Regions from separate parts of the Homo sapiens genome. Here regions 1 and 3 are each linked to region 2. The links are contacts of gene promoters, found by promoter capture Hi-C in human tissues and cell types (Jung and others, 2019). All regions are on one chromosome and are shown on one strand. Each heading gives the region's core, a stretch centred on a gene start or on the middle of the fragment in contact. The rest is flanking DNA. Distances are from core to core; before and after follow the strand shown.

The links. The method cuts DNA at HindIII sites, captures the fragments that hold promoters and counts their contacts. A contact is called where the count stands out against the background at its distance.
Region 1: a contact is called between the fragment with the promoter of PRSS27 here and the fragment with the promoter of PKMYT1 in region 2, in 4 of the 25 tissues and cell types used here (dorsolateral prefrontal cortex, lymphoblastoid cells, mesenchymal stem cells and 1 more).
Region 3: a fragment that was not itself captured here is called in contact with the fragment with the promoter of PKMYT1 in region 2 in 3 of the 25 tissues and cell types used here (dorsolateral prefrontal cortex, lymphoblastoid cells and spleen).

What each region holds. Positions count from the first base shown.
Region 1 is chr16:2,718,527-2,722,845 of GRCh38, reverse strand. PRSS27 (serine protease 27) reads left to right here and starts at 2,622. Exons shown (of 6, transcript NM_031948.5): 1 at 2,622-2,731. The coding sequence starts at 2,686. RefSeq lists silencers at 239-408, 1,092-1,161, 1,292-2,051 and an enhancer at 1,785-2,352. The HindIII fragment of the contact is 19,281 bases long and covers 1-4,319 here.
Region 2 is chr16:2,978,755-2,983,069 of GRCh38, reverse strand. PKMYT1 (protein kinase, membrane associated tyrosine/threonine 1) reads left to right here and starts at 2,624. Exons shown (of 9, transcript NM_004203.5): 1 at 2,624-2,784; 2 at 3,158-3,422. The coding sequence starts at 3,413. RefSeq lists enhancers at 1-260, 1,305-2,181, 2,182-3,057, 3,058-3,934 and silencers at 2,291-2,650, 2,661-2,890. The HindIII fragment of the contact is 14,611 bases long and covers 1-4,315 here.
Region 3 is chr16:3,446,880-3,451,325 of GRCh38, reverse strand. It overlaps NAA60 (N-alpha-acetyltransferase 60, NatF catalytic subunit), which reads right to left. Exons shown (of 8, transcript NM_001083601.3): 2 at 2,786-2,855. Among named protein-coding and RNA genes, the nearest start is that of NAA60, 5.4 kb to the right of the region's middle. The HindIII fragment of the contact is 7,237 bases long and covers 1-4,446 here.

The DNA.
Region 1 (4,319 bases), core at 1,373-3,872, 260 kb after region 2:
ATTTGTTTGGTGGGTGGTATGAGGAAGGGGCCCATTCTCAGCCCTGGGTCCGTGGGCTCCAGGTACAGGGACATGGAGGCGAGGTCTGGGTTCCCGATCCTCTAATCGCTGGCGTGGCTGTGCCTTGTTCTTCAGGAGCCCAAGTTTCCCTGGCGTCCTCGCTTTCTGATCTGCATCTTTTTTTTTTTTTTTTTTTTTTTTGAGACAGAGTCTCGCTCTGTCACCCAGGCTGGAGTGCAGTGGCGAGATCTTGGCTCACCGCAAGCTCCGCCTCCCGGGTTCAGGCCATTCTCCTGCCTCAGCCTCCAGAGTAGCTGGGTCTACAGGCGCCCACCACCGCGCCCAGCTAATTTTTTGTATTTTTAGTAGAGACAGGATTTTACCGTGTTAGCCAGGACGGTCTTGATCTCCTGACCTCGTGATCCGCCTGCCTCGGCCTCCCAAAGTGCTGGGATTACAGGCGTGAGCCACTGCACCTGGCCCTGATCTGCATCTTGACTTTTGTCACTTTCTTGATTTTAAGGCAGAGACACCCTTAGAGGAATGGGCTTAAAAGGAGGGTTGGGGAGCAGACACCAAGGAACACACAGAAAGGTGCCAAGAGGAAATAGTTACCTGCGAGGCTCTAAGACTGCCTCTGAGATCCCATCAGTGACCTGACCATAGGGTGCTGGAGAAATGTGGTCACCCAGACACTTTGAAACACTTTCCGTGGTTGATAATTATTATTCTCCTTTTTTTTTTTTTTTTTTTGAGACAGGGTCTCACTGTCTCCCAGGCTGGAGTGCAGTGTTGCAATCTCGTGTCATTGCCATCTCCGCCTCCCGAGTTCAAGTGATTCTCCTGCCTCAGCCTCCTGAGTAGCTAGGATCACAGGTGCCCGCCACCAAGCCCGGCTAATTTTGTATTTTAGTAGAGACGGGGTTTCACCATGTTGGCCATGCTGGTCTCGAACTCCTGACCTCAGGTGATCTGCCTGCCTTGGCCTCCCAAAGTGCTGGGATTCCCGGTGTGAGCCACTGCACCCAGCCCGTCGCGGTTTATAATTAGAGATTTCTCTGCTAAATGATGTTCTCTCTCTCACACTGAGGTGAGGTCTGTTTGGGTCACCTTTGTATTCCCCAAACCGGGGACAGTATTGGGCTCAAATCTGCTCAGAAATGACTGACTGACTGAATGAATAAATCAATACATGAATGAATACGTTTGGAGTCCCCTCTTCCCACTCCTCGCCCTCCCTCCTTCCCTCCAGACCCCCAGGGGCTGCCCAGCCCGCCTCCCACCCCCGACCCGGGAACTCCAGGGACTGGACGGGGAGGGAAGGGTGGGAGGAGGCGGTGGAGGCGGAGGCGGAGACGCGGGAGGGCGGGGCTAGGGAGGGCGATGCGGGGAGCCGGAGCCCGGACCATGAGGCTGGGAGCGCCCCTTCTGCACCCCTGGCCGCCCGCGCCGCGCCCCGCGCCCACCAGAGGGCAGCACCACGACGCGCGCGGACAAGGCTGAGGCGGGAACGGCCGCACCCCCAGCCCCGCCCGGAGCCGCCCGGCCCCGCCCCGCCCGCGAGTACCGACCCCCGGCGCCGGCGGGGAAACAGGTCCGGCGCCCCCGACCCCACGGCCCGGCCCCACTCTGTCTCTGACGTCAGCGCCGTGCCCCAAATAACTTCCTCCCCGAGCCTCTTCCGCCGCGGCGCCGCGCCCAGAGCCAGGCGGGGACACCGAAACGGTAACCCCGGCCCGGCCTTCCCGGAGCCGCTTCCGCCCCGCCTGGTGCCAGGAAGCCCCCGCCCCTTCCAAGGGATGGCAGCCGGGGCCCGGGTCGGCCGCCTGGGCCGCGCTGGCGCGCGCCTGAGGAACTTCTGGGGCCTGCTGTCCCGGGAGGAGGGTCGCTGCGGCCAACTCCGGACCCCGCCCCATGTCCCATCGCCTCCCCTGCCCTCGGCCCCGCAAACACCCCTGGCCTTGACTTTCCCACCAGCGCGGCCCAGCCCCACTGTGTTCCATCGGCGCTCAATAAAATACTGAATGAGGCCGGGCGCGGTGGCTCACCCCTGTAATCCCAGCGCTTTGGGAGGCCGAGGAGGGCGGATCACGAGGTCAGGAGATCGAGACTAGCCTGGCCAACACGGTTAAACCCCGTCTCTACTAAAAATACAAAAAATTAGCCGGGCGTGGTGGCACCTGCCTGTAATCCCAGCTACTCAGGAGGCTGAGGCAGGAGAATGGCTTGAACCTGGGAGACGGAGCTTGCAGTGAGCCGAGATTGCGCTCCAGCCTGGGCGACAGAGCGAGACTCTGTCTCAAAAAATTAAAAAAAATAATAATAATAATAATGAATGAAGCTGGACGGACTTCGCGTGCACCGCGGTCAGCTCGGGGTCTGCTGGGGGGTCTGGGTCAGCTCAGGGTCCAGGAACCGAGGCCAACGGCACCCCGTGCTGCGCTGGGGTGAGGGGTCTGCCCTGGGGTCTCGGGGTTCAGGGCTAGGTCACGGAGGAGTCGGCTCTGGGCGCTTCCTTCCTGAGGAGAGGAGCTGGGCAGGCCGGGCCGACGGGTTGGGCCGCATAGCCGGGCCTGTGCTCATCTCCAGCATAAAACTCCACTTCATGGAGCCTGCACCTCGCTCGTGCTCCAACGCTTCTGCCACCGCCGACCACGGCCCTGCGCCCCAGCCAGGCCTGAGGACATGAGGCGGCCGGCGGCGGTGCCGCTCCTGCTGCTGCTGTGTTTTGGTGAGTCGTGAAGGTGCAGGGTCCTGGTGGTGCAGTCCCCCACCAGGCTCCGCTGCACTGCCTGGGGCTCCGGCTCAGCCCCCTACTCCCTGGGACAGGCTGGGGCTGTGGGACAGGCCATCATCCCTCCTGCCCCTGAGCAGGTGGGAAGGCTCCAGATGTGCCAAGTGGGGAGTCCAAAGTGGGGAGGCAGGGTGGGAGGTGTGCGCACAGGCCCCAGAGGACCCCACCGGCATAACTGGGCAGCACCTCCTCCCATGCCTCTCCGCGGGCACTGGTGTGCCAGCTCTGGCCAGGCTCCCTGCTTCCTGCCACCTCGGCCTCTCCCCCCATTCTCTAGGTGAGGACAGGGGCCTCCTACGTGCAGGATGTGAACTCAGGCTCCAAGTGCCTGGACCATCATACTCGGGGTGGGAGGGTGGCCGAGCCGAGGGCTGCTGCCTGTGCCCGGAAGCCCCAGCAGGCTGGCTGCAGGCTCAGTAGAGAGCTGGGGGCAGGGGGTGTAGGTGGCAGAGGGCCCTGTCTCCTGCTGACAGAGGAACCGGTGATGCGCCACCGTGCCCTCTCCCAGTCCTGGGTCAGGGACAGCAGGTGCCAGCCAGGGGGCCCCACCTGCCAGGCCCCTCCCTGCGGGCCGGGACACTCTCTGTCAGGGAAAACCTCTCACATTCCTGGGCTAGCCTAGCCAGTCTGGCAGCCACCACACTTCCCTGTCCTCAAGTCACCTCCCAGGGCTGGGTCAGGTCATCCCAGGCTGCAGCTTAGCCAGTACTCCAGGCTTCCTTGTTCTCCTGGGTGGGAGGGCACCAGTGGCCCCTCAGTGGCCCGGCCTCCCCCACCCCATGCCCCCAGTCTCCCAGCACAAGGATGGTGCCCTCTGAGCAAGCCATGTGCACAGGAGGTGGAAGGCTGTGACTGCCCCTGAGCGGGGTGAGGAACCAAGGTCATTGCCAAAACTCTTTGGCAATGAGTTTTGCAGTCGGTTCACTAACAGCTGTGACCAGAGGCTGGACTCCTGGACACGTCCTCACTCCCAGCCCGAGGGTGGCACTCCCACCAGGTCTCTGGCTGGTGGTACCCACTAAGCTTCACCATCCCCACCAGCTACCAGCGAATCACAGGCCCAGGCCCCAAACAATGCTCCTGACACCCCCGGCACCCCTGGCTGTTGCTTCCAGCCCCCACAGGGCGCCCACCCTGAAGGGCTCAGCTGTCCACATCCCCCATTTCCCATCAGCCCCCACAGCCACACTTGTGTCCATCCACACATTCCCTGAGATCAGGCCCCCCAGATGCAGCCCTTGCCTTCTCGGAGCTCCTGGGCTAAGATAAGACTTGATTCTGGCTCCAGGGTGATGTAGACAGAGCTCCCATCAGGACAGAGAGCTCAAGAGAGAGTATAGGGCTTCCAAGGTAGACAATGCAAGCAAGCAAGGAAGGCTTCCTGGAGGAGGCAGCATTCAGTTGGGCCTTGATCTCTAGATCACGATTAGGACTTGGCTGGGAGCGGTGGCTCACGCCTGTAATGCCAGCACTTTGGGAGGCCGAGGTGGGCGGATCACGGGGCCAGGAGATCGAGACTATCCTG
Region 2 (4,315 bases), core at 1,375-3,874:
AGCCTTTTTTTTTTTTTTTTTTTTTGAGACAGAGTCTCGCTCTTGTCACCCAGGTTGGAGTGCAGTGGTGCGATGTGGGCTCACTGCAACCTCTGCCTCCCAGGTTCAAGCAATTCTGCCTCAGCCTCCCGAGTAGCTGGGATTACAAGCGCCTGCCATCACACCCAGCTAATTTTTGTATTTTTAGTAGAGAAGGGGTTTCACCATATTGGCCAGCCTGGTCTCGAACTCCTGAGCTCAAGTGATCCACCTGCCTCAGCCTCCCAAACTGCTGGGGTTACCAGCATGAGCCACTGCACCCGGCCCTCACTGCGGCCTTTAACTCCAGGGATCAAGTGATCCTCCTACTCCAGCCTCCTGAGGAGCTGGGACTACAGGTGTGTACCACTGTGCCTCACTGCTTTATTTCTTCTTTCTTTTCTTTTTTTCTCTCCCTTTCTTTCCTTCCTTCCTTTCCTTTCCTTTCTTTCTTTCTCTTTTTCTTTCCCTTTCTTCCCTTCCTTTTCTTTCTTTTTTCTTTCTTGAGACAGGGCCTTGCTATGTTGCCTAGTCTAGAAAACTATTATTTTTATCCCCATTTTACACACGCAGAAACTGGGGCAGGCAGGATCGCAGCCCTAGTTTCCCTCACACCACGCACTTATCTGCTCCATCTACTTATTTCCATTTACATATATTTATATTACAGCCTTTCCTCACACAGTGAAATTTACATCGGAAGCATGTGTTTCCATGCTTTTTTTTTTTTTTTTTTAATTATCATTGTGAATCAGACTTTAAAAAATGGGCGGTTGGAAGGGGACCTGTTGGGGAGATGGGGCTGGCAGAGGTAGCCCTAGGCAGCTGGGGAGGGGCCTGTGTGTGCCCCAGGCCTCCTGGGGGCCAGTCTGGAGTCATCAACAAGGATCCTGCCTGAGTCACTGGGGCACAGCCGCCAGAGATGCGAAGGACAAGGAAAGGTGCAGGCAGGTGGGCTGCCGCCCCCAGCCAGGATCCCAGCCTCTCCTCCCCCACACTGCTGCTCCATGCACAGAACGTTTACAGAGGGTGCAGGAACTGAATGGGTGGGAAGCTTTGCAGTCCATGACCTGTCAGAGACTTGGGGAGGATGGAGGGTTTGGGGGACTGGTTCTGGAGGCCAGGGCTAGAAGGAGCAGGTAGTCAACAAGTAAACTCACAAACAAAAGATAGAACATCGGACAGAGATCAGGGCAATAGCAAAAATAAGGCGGAAGGAGAGGTGAGAGTGAGAAGGCCAGCGTTTGGGGGAGGGTTGGCCGGAAGCGTACTCCTCCCACCCAGTTAAACAGATAAAGAGCCCCTCGGTGAGGGAAGGAACAATCCCTAGCCCGACTTGCTCCGCGAGGGCCCCTGCTAATCACTTTAGGGGATCATCCCAGCGTCCTCAGCTGTTTTTTTTTTTCCAGGAGAGGAGACTAATCCGAAGCTCAGAAAGGCTCAGTGCATTCCCAAGGTCGTTCAGCCAGGAGAGCGCTGAAGGGATCTGAGCTGAGAGCAAGTCTCAAACTCAGAGAATGGAGGAGCTGCCCCGGAAGTGGCTGCTCGAGGCTGCAGTGAACTATGATCCTGCGGCCAATCGCGGTGGCTCACGCCTGTAATCCCAGCCTTCTGGGAGGCCGAGGCGGGCGGATCGCTTGAGGTCAGAAGTTCGACACTAGCTTGGCCAACATGGTAAAACACCGTCTCTACAAAAAAATGCAAAAATTAGTTGGGTGTGGTGGCGCGCGCCTGTGGTCCCAGCTACTCAGGAGGCTGAGGTGGGAGGAACGCTTGAGCGGGGGAGGCGGAAGTTACAGTGAGTCGAGATCGCCCCACTGCACTCCAGCCTGGACAACAGAATGAGACCCTGTCTAAAAATAAAATACATGAGCCGAGTGCGGTGGCGCGCGCCTGTGATCTCACATACTCGGCAGGCTGAGGTTGGGAGAACCGCCTGAACCTGGGGACTGCACCACTGCATTCCAGCCTTGGTGACAGTGAGACCCTGTCTAAAAAAAAAAAAAAAAGTATCTGAGGCCTGTTGGCAGGGAAGCTGCAGGCAGGCGAGGTCAGGCCAAGCAGAGTCCTGCCTATCTGGAGAGCTTCCTGGAAGAGGCGGCTTTTTCTGGCTCCCGAAGCCGTGCGCTAGGGGTTGGGGGTCGTGCGTCTGGCCTCCCACCGCGACCCTGGTTCAGAACACGGCCGGAGTGAGAAGGGGGGTGCCGGGACCCAGGAGGCCGTAGGGACTTCCTGGTCCTACCCGGAGTAACCCTGGGGCTACGCCTGCTCCGAGCACCGGGATGGCGGTCCCTTTTATGGACCCAAACACTACGCCAGCCCAGCGAGGGCGGTGGGTGTCGGGTGCGAGGCCTGGAGGGCAGTGGGCGTCCCAGGGACTGGGCGGCTGAAGCCCCGCGCAGCGACTCAGAACCAGGCCGCCACCCACGCCCCGGGCCAGCGCGGAGAATCCTGTGCGCCTGCGCAGTGAGCGGCGGGGCGGCTCGGCGGCGCGCACGCAGCACGAGGGGCGGAGCCTCGGAGCCCGGGCACCCCTGACGGGCTGCACTGGGGAGGGGGAGGAGCCTCGAGGCCGGTTTGGAATTTTTGGCGCGAGCAGCTCCGCGCGCGTTCACGGGCCGTTCCCCCTCACGGGAGTCCTCCGCCCGGGCGTCCGGAACAGTCGACGGCAGACTCCGGCCCGCTGAGCCACCCGAGGGGTCCCGTGGCCTCCGCGGACCCGGAATCTGGGCCCTCGCGGACCCGCGCCCCGCCCAGTCGCCCCAGGTGAGCCCAGACCCCGCCGTGAGGGGCCTCGGCGTGGCCACCTCGCCGCTCCCCTCCGCCTCGCCAGGTCTGCGTTACCCCTGCCCCTCAGGCCTCCCCGGCGGCCCGCTCGCGTCCCCTCAGGCCCGCCCCCGCGAGCCCCTGCCTCCCGTCCTCCCCAATTCCTGGTTCCCTTGCCTCGAGCCCCTTCCCAGCGGCGGTCCCGCCCTACTCGCCCCTCCCGGAGACCCCGCCTGCTGTCCATCAACCCCGCGCCGCCGCCCTCCCCGTGACAGTCCTTCCTCCGTGACAGCCCCTGCCCCGGGACAGCCTCTCTTCTTCTGCAACAGCCCCTCTTCCCTCGTGACAGCCCGTCCACTGCTCTGTTCGCCAGGGCTTCCCCACACCCACGGAGTGAAGTCAGCCGCGGCCCTGCCTGGGAGGAACTTACCGTCTACCGGGAAAGGTGGCCAGCAGATGTGTCGGGCCTGGTGAGAGGGTGAGGCGAGACGGCCCGATCGCCCAGGGCCCCGGAAGCTGCGGAGGTCACCCCCGCCTGGCCTTAGCTCAGGGACACCCTGGATTCACGTGGGAGCCCCTGCTCCTGCCTCCCCCGTCCCACCACTGAGGCTGTTGGGCCAGGCCAGTCATGCTAGAACGTAAGTCGTAGGGCAGGGACGGTGGGAGAACTGGGTTAAGATGCACAGGCCCAGGTCCCCGAGTGTGCCAGGGTTGGGCCTGGAGGCTGTGCTTGTGACCAGTGACCTCCAGGATCCCAACACCCTGGCTCCTGACTTGGAGAAACCCTGGGCTGGGACTCTGAGGTAGTTAGAGTCAGAGGAAGAGTCTCCACAAGATGGAGGGCAGCCTGCCAGCCAGGCCCAGGTAGCATCGCTCCCCTCACCCCTGTACTCCCTCAGGTACTGGAGACTGCTCTTTTTAATTTTTTATTTACTATTATGTATATTTTTTTGAGATGGAGTTTTGCTCTTGTCGCCCAGTTGGAGTGCAATGCCGCAATCTCGGCTCACCGCAACTTCCACCTCCTGGGTTCAAGCATTTCTCCTGCCTCAGCCTCTGAGTAGCTGGGACTACAGGCATGCACCAGCACGCCCGGCAAAAATTTGTATCTTTAGTAGAGATGGGGTTTCACCATGTAGGCCAGGCTGGTCTCGAAGTCTTGACCTCAAGTGATCCACCCACCTTGCCTCCCGAAGTGCTGGGATTACAGGCGTGAGCCACCACACCCAGCCGCTCTATTGTTTTTTATAATACTTTGGTGCACCAGCCTCACCAACATGGTGAAACCACATCTCTACTAAAAATATAAAAATTATTCTAGTGTGTTGGCACACGCCTGTAATCCCAGCTACTCAGGAGGCTGAGGCAAGAGAATTACTTGAACCTGGGAGTCGGAGGCTGCAGTGGGCCGAGATCATACCACTGCACTCCAGCCTGGGCAACAGAGTGAGACCCTGTCTCAAAAACAAACAAACAAACAATACCTTGGGGCATAAAGTGTTCCACGGTCCAATCCAATTAAATTTTTTTT
Region 3 (4,446 bases), core at 1,245-3,744, 470 kb before region 2:
ACTCATCTTACCATTTTCCTGGTATCCATTCAGAGATATTATTTACATGGACAAGTACTATATTTTCATAAATAAAAGGCGTGCAAGTGAAATGGAGGCTGGGCTTAGATACTGGATTCTTTTCATTTCTTCCTTCCCCATTCTGGGTACAAATGGTGACCAAGGAAATGTGTTATTACACACATCCTGCCTTTGAGGAGTTACGTGATTACAAGACAATCTGATAAGCACTGCAACAGAGGTGTTTGTTGTACAAACAACAATGGAGCTTCTAGAATGGAACAGAGTAAATGCATTATTTACTAAGTGTCTGCTATACGCTAAACACTGAGTTATAATCCCTCCTGCATGTTCTAATTGACTTCTAACTTACAATGCTTGTACTGTACATTCTAATTTACAATGGCCTTGAAAGTTCAGTATTGTTGTCCTCATTTTACAGATGATGAAACACCCACCCAAGGCTTCTATACCATGCAGAATGATGCCTCTCTCCACTGGCTGCCCTGAGCACATGCCATGAAGAATGAAAGCCAGGAGACAAAGGAACAAACTAGTTCATCATTAAAACCTGTATGCTTTCCCTTGGATCACAACTTTCTTTTTTTTTTTTTTTTTTTTTTTTTGAGACGGAGTCTCACTCTGTCGCCCAGGCTGGAGTGCAGTGGCACGATCTCGGCTCACTGCAAACTCCGCCTCCCGGGTTCACACCATTCTCCTGCCTCAGCCTCCCGAGTAGCTGGGACCACAGGTGCCCACCACCACGCTCGGCTAATTTTTTGTATTTTTAGTAGAGATGGGGTTTCACCATGTTAGCCAGGATGGTCTCGATCTCCTGACCTTGTGATCCGCCTGCCTCAGCCTCCCAAAGTGCTGGGATTACAGGCATGAGCCACTGCGCCCAGCAGGAGCACAACTTTCCTGACTCACCCAGAAAGAAATCCACAAGCTTCCAAAACCAGCCTTCCTAGGCAGACCCTGAGAACATTTTTCCCAGGGTCCCAGAAACAAATCATGAACAAACCACTTCATGGCAAGCCCTGTGGCTTGCTGACCAGCCTCTGCTCTGCCTGAGAGGCCTCCAGACCACCCCAGGAGCACTCCCAGAAGAGCAGAAAAGCTCCATGAGACTAGCACAAGGGACAGTGAATTATCCCAACTCATGGTTCTGAAGGGTTTATTAATGTATGCATGGATCAAAACCCTTTCAGTCAGGAGCCAAATATTTTGCTTCCAAATATTTTGCTTCCAAAGAAATTCTTCTTTAGTTCCTTCTTCTTCTTTTCTCTTTTTTTGAGACGATGTATTAGTCTGTTTTCACACTGCTGATAAAGACATACCTGAGACTGCGCAATTTACAAAAAAAAGAGGTTTAATGGACTTACAGTTCCACGTGGCTGGGGAGGCCTCACAATTACGGTGGAAGGTAAAAGGCATGTCTCACATGGTGGCAGACAAAAGAGGGCTTGTGCAGGGAAACTCCCCTTTTTAAAAACCATTAGATCTCGTGAGACTTATTCACTATCATGAGAACAGCATGGGAAAGACCTGCCCCACGATTCAATTACCTCCTACTGGGTCCCTCCCATAATATATGGGAATTGCAGATGAGATTTGGGTGGGGACACAGCCAAACCATATCAGATGGGGTCTCGCTCTGTCACCCAGGCTGGAGTGCAGTGGTGCGATCTCAGCTCACTGCAACCTCCATTTCCTGAGTTCAAGCAATTCTTCTTCCTTAGCCTCCCGAGTAGCTGGGACTACAGTTGGGCGCCACCATGCCTGGCTAAATTTTTCTTTTTTTTTCTGAGACAGAGTCTTGCTCTGTCGCCCAGTCTGGAGTACAGTGGTGTGATCTCGGCTCACTGCAACTGTCACCTCCCAGGTTCACACCATTCTCCTGCCTCAGCCTCCCAAGTAGCTGGGACTACAGGTGCCCACCACCACGCCCAGCTAATTTTTTGTATTTTTAGTAAAGATGGGGTTTCACCGTGTTAGCCAGGATGGTCTCGATCTCCTGACCTCATGATCCACCTGCCTTGGCCTCCCAAAGTGCTGGGATTACAGACGTGAGCCACCACGCCCAGCACACCCGGCTACATTTTTGTATTTTTTAGTAGAGATGGGGTTTCAACATGTTGGGCAGGCTGGTCTCGAACTCCTGACCTCCAGAGATCTACCCGCCTCACCTCCTAAAGTGCTGGGATTACAGGCGTGAGCCACTGCGCCCAGCCCTTTGGCTCCTTCTTTATGAGTAGATAATGAAAAATAAATTTTTAACAAAAGAAATTCTCCTTTGGTATAAAATGATGCAAGTGTGTAAGACGGATCACCACAGATGATACTGCTTCCTTTGATTAGAACCAAACCAGAGGTGGCACAGGATGACCACCACGTGGCTACACAGACCAATCTCAGAGGGTCAGGGCAGCACACTGGGAGAGTCTCGTTCTCCACTAACATTGTCAGTGTGCCCTGAGACTGGGCTTACCCATCAGACTCACAAGAGACTGATGCTTAAACCAAATCTTGTTTACTTCTTTATAGTTTAAAGAGGCTGGCATACTTGTACTGTATCCCTGTGTACCTAACGTAAGAATATACTCATTTACCCTCCTAGCAAAAAAGTGAAAGCATTTGTTTCACTAGGCGCCTTCTATCATTCAGTACTAAAAATTAAGAGAATATTTAATACTTGACAGGTCAAAAATGGATTTCACTTAAGTAGGCTTCCTCTGACTATGAGGGCATCATTAATAGCAGGACACAGAGCGCTTTGACTCACTCTCTGGAGCTCTTCTCCCAACTCAGGCTGGCTCCGCACTTCCTTCCTCCAGGTACAGCCTTTCTGTATGCTGCAGGGGAGAAAGACACAAGGCCATCACTTCACTCCTGGCCATCCCATCTCTACAACTCATAGGCTAATGAGTGTCAGACAAACCCTGGATCTCAGAGTATCAATCTGATGGGCCCTTTTGGGGAAAAATTAACTATCTAAACATGTAGTTCTCTAAACTACAAAGCAACCCATGTTTTTTTTTTTTTTTTTTTTGAGACAAGGTCTTGCTCTGTCATCCAAGCTGGAGTGCAGTGGCACAATGCTAGCTCACTGCAGCCTCGAACTCCTGGACTCAAGTGATTCTCTTGCTTCAGCCTCTAAAGTAGCTGGAATTATAGGTGTGAGTGACCACGCCCAGCCTCCAACCCATCCTTTCTTCTCTGTCCTCACTGTATCTAACCTGCATTCTCTGTACCTCTTACTACCCTCCAGGAGTCTTTGGTTGCAGCTTCTAGTAACGATAATTATTCAGTATGAGTAGGTCAAGAATCTTTCTCTGGAAGCACCTCTGCCTCAGTGACTGAAAAAGAATTCTGTTGGGAGTTAACACAGACCAAGCCAGTTTTTGGTAACAGAATTAACATGTTGAAGGTACGTTTAGAGCCCTGAGCTTTTTTCTAATTAAAAGACTCCTATTAGTTTCAACTCAAGGCTAAATGAAACTAAAAAGACTCCTATCCAGCTAGAAGTTGTGCTAATTTCAAAACTGTGTGAGCCTCTTGTTCTTGCAGGCATGACTTGCAGCCATTGTCCCCTTATAAGACTGGAGACTAGGTAGCAACAGTTTTCTAACTGCTCAATCAAGCATTCTGAACACCAGTAAGAAAACCTCTTGCTGAAGTTGGGAGAAAGATAATCTTGCTTACCTAGGCCCCCTTAGTGTAGGTGAGAAGGCTCTGTGTCAGTTTCCGATCAGTATCAACTTCCCATGAAGGATACGGTAAAGGCGGTAAGAACCAGAGCCATACTTATGTTTAAGTAATAGACCTTAAAAGGCAGTACCATCTGGGAATGGAAAACACACCAAACGTAGTGAGCAATTCATTCTGGAAATCATGTTAAACATCGCCAGGGAAGATACCCCATTTACCTTGAAGTGATTACACATTGCATGCCTGCATCAAAATATTTCATGTACCACATAAATATATACACCTACTATGTACCCATAAAAATTAAAAATATAACTACCACTACCATTTTAACGCATAGTCTTCAAAAGCAACTTTGTTATTGTTTTTGTTTCATAACCAATTTTACTCCCAAAAATGAGTATCTTTCCGTTTCAATATACAGCTGCATCATCATAAAAATCACTAGGGAAAAGATATATACTTAAGAATAGGGGCCGGGGGCAGGGGCTCACGCCTGTAATCCCAGCACTTTGGGAGGCCAAGGCGGGCAGATCACAAGGTCAGGAGTTCGAGACCAGCCTGGCCAATATGGGGAAAACCCGTCCTCTACTAAAAATACAAAAATTCGCCAGGTGTGGTGGTACGCACCTATAGTCCCAGCTACTCGGGAGGCTGAGCCAGAAGAATTGCTTGAACCTGGGAGATGGAGGTTGCAGTGAGCAGGCCAGGTGCGGTGGCTCATACCTGTAATCC